Linked DNA regions of Homo sapiens: region 2 is linked to region 1. Evidence: promoter capture Hi-C in human tissues and cell types (Jung and others, 2019). All regions are on one chromosome and are shown on one strand. The core of a region is centred on a gene start or on the middle of the fragment in contact, and the rest is flanking DNA. Distances in the headings are between cores, read along the strand shown. Region 1 holds the start of ACAT2 (acetyl-CoA acetyltransferase 2). Region 2 overlaps MAP3K4 (mitogen-activated protein kinase kinase kinase 4).

The links. The method cuts DNA at HindIII sites, captures the fragments that hold promoters and counts their contacts. A contact is called where the count stands out against the background at its distance.
Region 2: a fragment that was not itself captured here is called in contact with the fragment with the promoter of ACAT2 in region 1 in 1 of the 25 tissues and cell types used here (hippocampus).

What each region holds. Positions count from the first base shown.
Region 1 is chr6:159,760,411-159,763,489 of GRCh38, forward strand. ACAT2 (acetyl-CoA acetyltransferase 2) reads left to right here and starts at 1,635. Exons shown (of 9, transcript NM_005891.3): 1 at 1,635-1,732; 2 at 2,509-2,643. The coding sequence starts at 1,678. SOD2-OT1 (SOD2 overlapping transcript 1) reads right to left here and starts at 1,922. Exons shown (of 2, transcript NR_037166.1): 1 at 1,584-1,922; 2 at 1-1,226. It also overlaps a transcript of SOD2 not described here. RefSeq lists enhancers at 888-947, 3,016-3,079 and silencers at 1,378-1,437, 1,458-1,607. The HindIII fragment of the contact is 8,135 bases long and covers 1-3,079 here.
Region 2 is chr6:160,999,757-161,002,835 of GRCh38, forward strand. The region is part of intron 1 of MAP3K4 (mitogen-activated protein kinase kinase kinase 4); the gene reads left to right. Among named protein-coding and RNA genes, the nearest start is that of MAP3K4-AS1, 9.0 kb to the left of the region's middle. RefSeq lists an enhancer at 1,671-2,172. The HindIII fragment of the contact is 7,469 bases long and covers 1-3,079 here.

The DNA.
Region 1 (3,079 bases), core at 385-2,884:
AGGCGCACGGCACCACGCCCGGCTAATTTTTCTATTTTATGGTAGAAACGGGATATCACCATGTTGGCCAGGCTGGTGTCAAACTGCTGACCTCAAATGATCCGCCCTCCTCGGCCTCCCAAAGTGCTGGGATTACAGGTGTGAGCCAAGGTGCCCGACCTGATGTGCTTGTAAGAATTTAAATGAAGAGGGTCAGTCAGCTTAGGAGACGAGGTTAGATGTAAGGATTTCAGACTTGTCAGTATACAGGTGGTGATTGATGCCGTAGGAATGACTGGTATTACCCAGGGAGCTGGTGCAAAGTAGGAGCCTTGGGGAACATGTTAAGGGGATGTGAGAGTAAGCCCACAAAGACTCAGAAGTGGCCAGGGAGTAAGGGGAAAATGGGATAGAATAGAGCAAAAGCCACGGGAGGCATTCCTTGAATTCCTTGGACTCAGATATGTTAGGGGACAGGAAACACATTGAAGACAACTGAAGAGACTTCAGTGTGCTGCTGAGTTCTTAGCAGAGTAGACAGCTGATTTCACCACTATTCCAGACCCTAAAGATTTCTCCTGAAATTGCACTGTTATGCAATTTTTTTCCTTCTCTATTGCCCCACCTCTGGGGCCTACACTCTTTACCTTCTCTGATTTATCTGACCCATCCGCATATCTCTGCAAAGTCTTAATGTAGGTTTCCAGGATTTAATGATTCTTTCAATCAACTTTAAAGTTCTTCAGGAAGATTCTCCAGGTCCGTCAACAGTTTTCCCCTTCATGACTTTGTGACAAAGCTTTCTTGTTCCACTATCCAGGTGTTCCCAACAAGTTGCTGTAACGGTGGCCCCTCATAAGCTTGCCTGGAAACCCTAGAAAGCTCAGAAAAATTATGAACTTTGCCCAGTAAGAGGCTGGGAAGTCAGAAAGGGTTTTAAACAAAACTGACCCCACTTGTTACATGCTCCTTTCACTGTCCAAACGTCAACCAAAGGAACTTTTGTGACGCTAAGACGCTCCCGGCGTCCTCACCCGTTCACAGCCAGAGTTGATCTTAGAAGGCAGGGGGCTCGCACCGAGACGCTCCTAGCAAGCCCCTCACGCGAGCGAATGACTGGCGCCAGGAGAAACGCATAGGACCTCCCGAAGCCGCCGAGAGCAAAAGGACCCATCAGAGCTGTGCTGAGACCCGCCGCGGGCCGGGCTCGCACTCGAGATTCTCGCCCGTGGGATTCCAGTCCTGAGCTGAACGAGAGATAAGTCTTTGTCACCCCCCAGTCTTTACTGTTTCGAGAAACCCTAAGATTTTTTAAAAAAAAGCCCAAGACGTCAAGTCGGGGAACTCCAACATTGGGGTGTCCAGAAACACTGGGGTTTCAGGCGCTCTGTAAATGCGTCCGAGGTCCGCGGTTCTGCCCGCAAGCCCAGACCCCGGCCTCACTTCCGCCCCGCGCCCCGCGCCCCGGCCTCACTTCCGCCCCGCGCCCCGCGCCCCGCGCCCCGCGCGCCTCCGCCCGCCCCTGCTCCGGCCTTGCGCCTGCGCACAGTGGGATGCGCGGGGAGGTGGTGCGCGGGGAGGTGGAGGGCGAGGGGCGGGGCTACCTCAGGTCCCGCCCGCGGCAGGCCTGTGGGCTGCGAGGAGGAGCTTTGCCTAGCTTGCAGGCAGCGCAGGGCAGACGGCGGCAGGAGAAGCAAGATGAATGCAGGCTCAGATCCTGTGGTCATCGTCTCGGCGGCGCGGACCATCATAGGTGAGTGGCCGGCGGGAGCCGCGCAGAGTCCGAGGCGCCTGCTGCTTCGGCAGGAGCGCCGAGGGCCGGACTTGTGTAGGAGAGGGGCGTATGTGGAGGAAGCCGGTCAGGCCAAGCCGCGAGGAGCCGCGGGATCCCTGGAACCCTGCGGCTCCCGCGTTCCCTGACCTGGTGCTACAGCCCCACCCTCTCCTCTCCCGATGTGCGCACTCCGTCCCTCGTGCTTGGATTGGCTCCCGGGGTAGAGCCATCGCGTGGCCTGCCTCTCCCATTGGTTGGCGTAGGGAGGTGTTCTCCTCCGGGGCCCCTGATTGGCCGGCTCCGGGAGGCGCCATCGGTAATGCCTGCGGCAGGGGCGGAACTGCTAGGTGGTCTGAGCCCGGCTTTGGGCTGGGGTCGGGCTGTCACACAATGGCTAGAAGTCGTGACTTCGTCTCCTTCGTGCCGCATGGTTTTCAACGCCCTTGACCCGCCGGTTCCTTTTGTTTGGGAAGCATGGGGTCGCATCCAGTCCTTCGGATTTGGGGAAATAGAAGGGCTACAGCGGCGTCCCTAGGCCGTTCTGGAGGTCGCCTGTCCAGCCCTCGGCTGCTGCGAGTTGTGGCACCCACCTTGACCTTTGCTCAGACCAGCAGGTGTAGGAACGTGTGGGAGGAGAGGGCACTGCCTCCTCGCGTGGCCTTGCCAAACAGGGTCATGAGGCTCCCCTGCTCGTAGGTGGTTCCCGTATTACCCGCAGGCTTGTGATGTCCACGCTCTCCGCCTTTCTATTGTAGGTTCCTTCAATGGTGCCTTAGCTGCTGTTCCTGTCCAGGACCTGGGCTCCACTGTCATCAAAGAAGTCTTGAAGAGGGCCACTGTGGCTCCGGAAGATGTGTCTGAGGTCATCTTTGGACATGTCTTGGCAGCAGGTAAGTCTCAGTGATTCCAGGAGAAGTCAGGCTTATTAGAAACAGCCCATAAACACACACACACACACACACTCTCACACACTCACACACTCTCTCACTCACTCAAGTTCTTGCCTCCTTGCTTTTGCTCAGAGTTCCCTCTGTTATGATTCCTCCTGTTGGCCCCCTTCTTCCAGCCCTGTCAGTAGCTTCTATCCAGCTTGAGACTCAGCTTCTTGGCCAGGCAGGGTGGCTCCCGCCTGTAATCCCAGCACTTTGGGAGGCGGAGGAGGAAGGATCACTTGAGTCCAGAAGTTTGAGACTAGCCTGGGCAACAAAGCAAGACCCCGTCTCTACAAAAAATAAAATAGCCAGGTATGATGGCCTGTGCCTCCCAGCTACTGGAGAGGCTGAGGTGGGAGGATCACTTGAGCCCAGGAGTTTGAGACTGCAGTGA
Region 2 (3,079 bases), core at 153-2,652, 1.2 Mb after region 1:
CAGCTTAAGCCCATGTGCACAGTTACTTGGCAACCGTGAAATGCTGTATTTTCTGGATGAATTGGACTCAACAGGATCAAACGAGATGAAAGATTTGTTTTTAGAAAAAAATGCAAATAGAAAATATGAAATCCTCTTAAAACTCATCATCCACAACGTTTTTCCCCCGTGAAACTTTTATTTCTTGCTCGCAGAATAAAGAAGAGCCAATGCTCAGAAATTTTCAGATACGTTGTTATTTTCAGGCGTCGGTCTGTACATCAAGAAGACAGTAAGATTCTAACTTCTGGTCTGTAGTAGTGGTTTTGAAACTGTGTTTATGGTCGTGACCTACAGTAAGAAATATATTTTATGACAGTGTGTGTGTGCCTTATAACCAAAAGAAAACAATTTTGAAACAGTATTTGACCTTGCAATATATGATACTCAAATAATTCTTATTCTGTTCTATTAAAAATTGTTCATCATAACCTACTAAATTGATTTTATTACCCACAAATAGGTTGTGACCCTCAGTTTTAAAAGCATAGCTCTACCCAAAATAAAATGGATGCTGTTATACTTTGTACCTTGTCCCTTGAGACTGAGTCAGGAGAACAAGTACACTATTTGTCTACTAAATGATCAAATGGAATTTTGAAGAAGCTCGGCAATACTTACTTCTTGAAGACAGCATTGTTACCCGAAGGCAAGAGTAAGAATGTATCTATGCTTGTCTCTCAAGGTTGTTCTCTTGGCTGCTTATCCTTAAACTACAAGAATTGTAAAGATCAGTTTAAAATCTAGGATTAATTTTAGAGTAAAATTGGGATTGGCATTATGTGAATAATTTAGGTAATTTGTTGATCTTTCTCTGAAACAGTAACCTGTGTTTAAAATTTTTCACATAGAGCAGTCCTTAAGAAAAGAAAGGAACTCATTTTCCCCTGATATATATACACACATATATGTGTACACCATATATACACACACATACACACACATATATGTGTACACCCATCTGTATACACACATATGTGTACACCCATATATACACACATGTGTACACCCATATATACACACATGTGTATGCACACATACACATGTGTACGCACATATACACATGTGTACACATACATATATGTATATTATACTATACATATATGTACACACACATATATAGTGTATAATATGCATATATATGCACACATAGTGCATATTATATATAATATACACATATGTATATAATATATATTATATATTATAATATACACATATGTATATAATATATATTATATATTATAATATACACATATGTATATAATATATATTATATATTATAATATACACATATGTATATAATATATAATATATATTATATACACATATATAATACAAGTGTATATAAGTATATATGTATATACATATATATGTGTACACATATATAAGAAATCCAAATCCAAATACTGAAAAATTTACAAAAAATATTTACAAAAATATTTTTATCAAGTTATTAATTATAGGTGGAATCATGTATGTCTCAAGCTATGTGTTATAAATGTTATCAAATAATTCAAACAATATATTTCACATCTATATATTCTGTATATGCATGATATATATGTCATATGTAATCTATGTTAGGGTACAGCAGTTTCACTTTAGGTCTTAAGCATTGCTTACTTTAGGGTCCACCTTGACATTTCCCCCGCTTCCCCCCAGAATAGATGAGATCCTTCTGTTATGTGTCCTCAGAGCCCCTGCAGTTTGCCACCATTTGTAATTATATATTTGTGTACATATTTGTTTATTATGTTTGCCTTCAGTAAACTCCATGAGGGCTGGGGCATCGTCTGTTGTTTTGCTTACTTTTATTGCCTAATTCCTGGCTCGTTGCCTAACAGCAGGTTCTTTGCTGACACTTGTATGAAGGAGGCAGAGCATAGGTTTTGGTAGTAGATAGGCTTTGAATGTTACCTTTTGATTGCTAGCAGTAGGATTGTGGGGAAGTAATTTAGCCTCTCTCAGTCTGTTTCCGCATTTGAAAGGCAAAAATAATAACATCTTCCTAGGTTGTTATTAAGATTAAGTAATTCCTGTTCTATAGTAAGTGCTCAGTATTAGCTGTTTTATTACATTTCTCTTTCTTCCTCTTTTTGGGCTTAAGGTAAAAGAGGCAAATCCTATAGTGATTTTCTTAAAAAGCCACCAAATATGCATTGAGGCTGGATACTTTTAAAAATAGCTGCAATAATCTCCATTCAAGAAACATTTCCCCCCCAACGTCTGCAGAAGCCATAGAAATAAGAAAAAGGTTTTTTTTTTTTTTTTTTTTTGGATCTAGCTTTTCCAGATTCTCTCTCTTACTTTAGTTGTGGTTTATTCTGCATATTATTCCTACAGGTGTTTGGAATTCTGGCTGGCCCTTGGATCATCATAAATCATGCTGCTAAATTAAGAACTGTAACGCTACTGATTGTGATTGTTTAGGTTAATAGGCACAGCTGTCTTTTTCTGTGGAAATTCTTTTTAGTTCATTTAACTTGTGTCTTTATAACTTGGATTAATTTTCTTTTCATTTTTTAAATGTTATACACTGTAAGAGGAATAGTTTTCAAATTGATCTAGCCACTGCCTAAGAAAAATGAATGAAATCTTTTCACGTAATAAAACTAGATTGATCTAGCTACTGCCTGAGAAAAGTGAGTGAAATCTTCTCGCTTAATAAAAGTAACTTAATCAGTTAGAAATTTTCCTGATTATAAAGGTAACCTGTATCTATTATGGAAAACTATGAATCATATAAAGAAGAAAATGACCAATTCTAATTCTGCCATCTAAAAATAGTTTTGGCTTTTTTTTTTTTTTTTTTTTGAGATGGAGTCTCGCTCTGTCACCCAGGCTGGAGTGCAGTGGTGCAGTCTTGGGTCACTGCAAGCTCCGCCTCCTGGGTTCATGCCATTCTCCTGCCTCAGCCTCCTGAGTAGCTGGGACTACAGGCGCCTGCCACCATGCCCGGCTAATTTTTTGTATTTTTAGTGGAGATGGAGTTTCACCATGTTAGCCATGATGGTCTCGATCTTCTGACCTTGTGATCCAC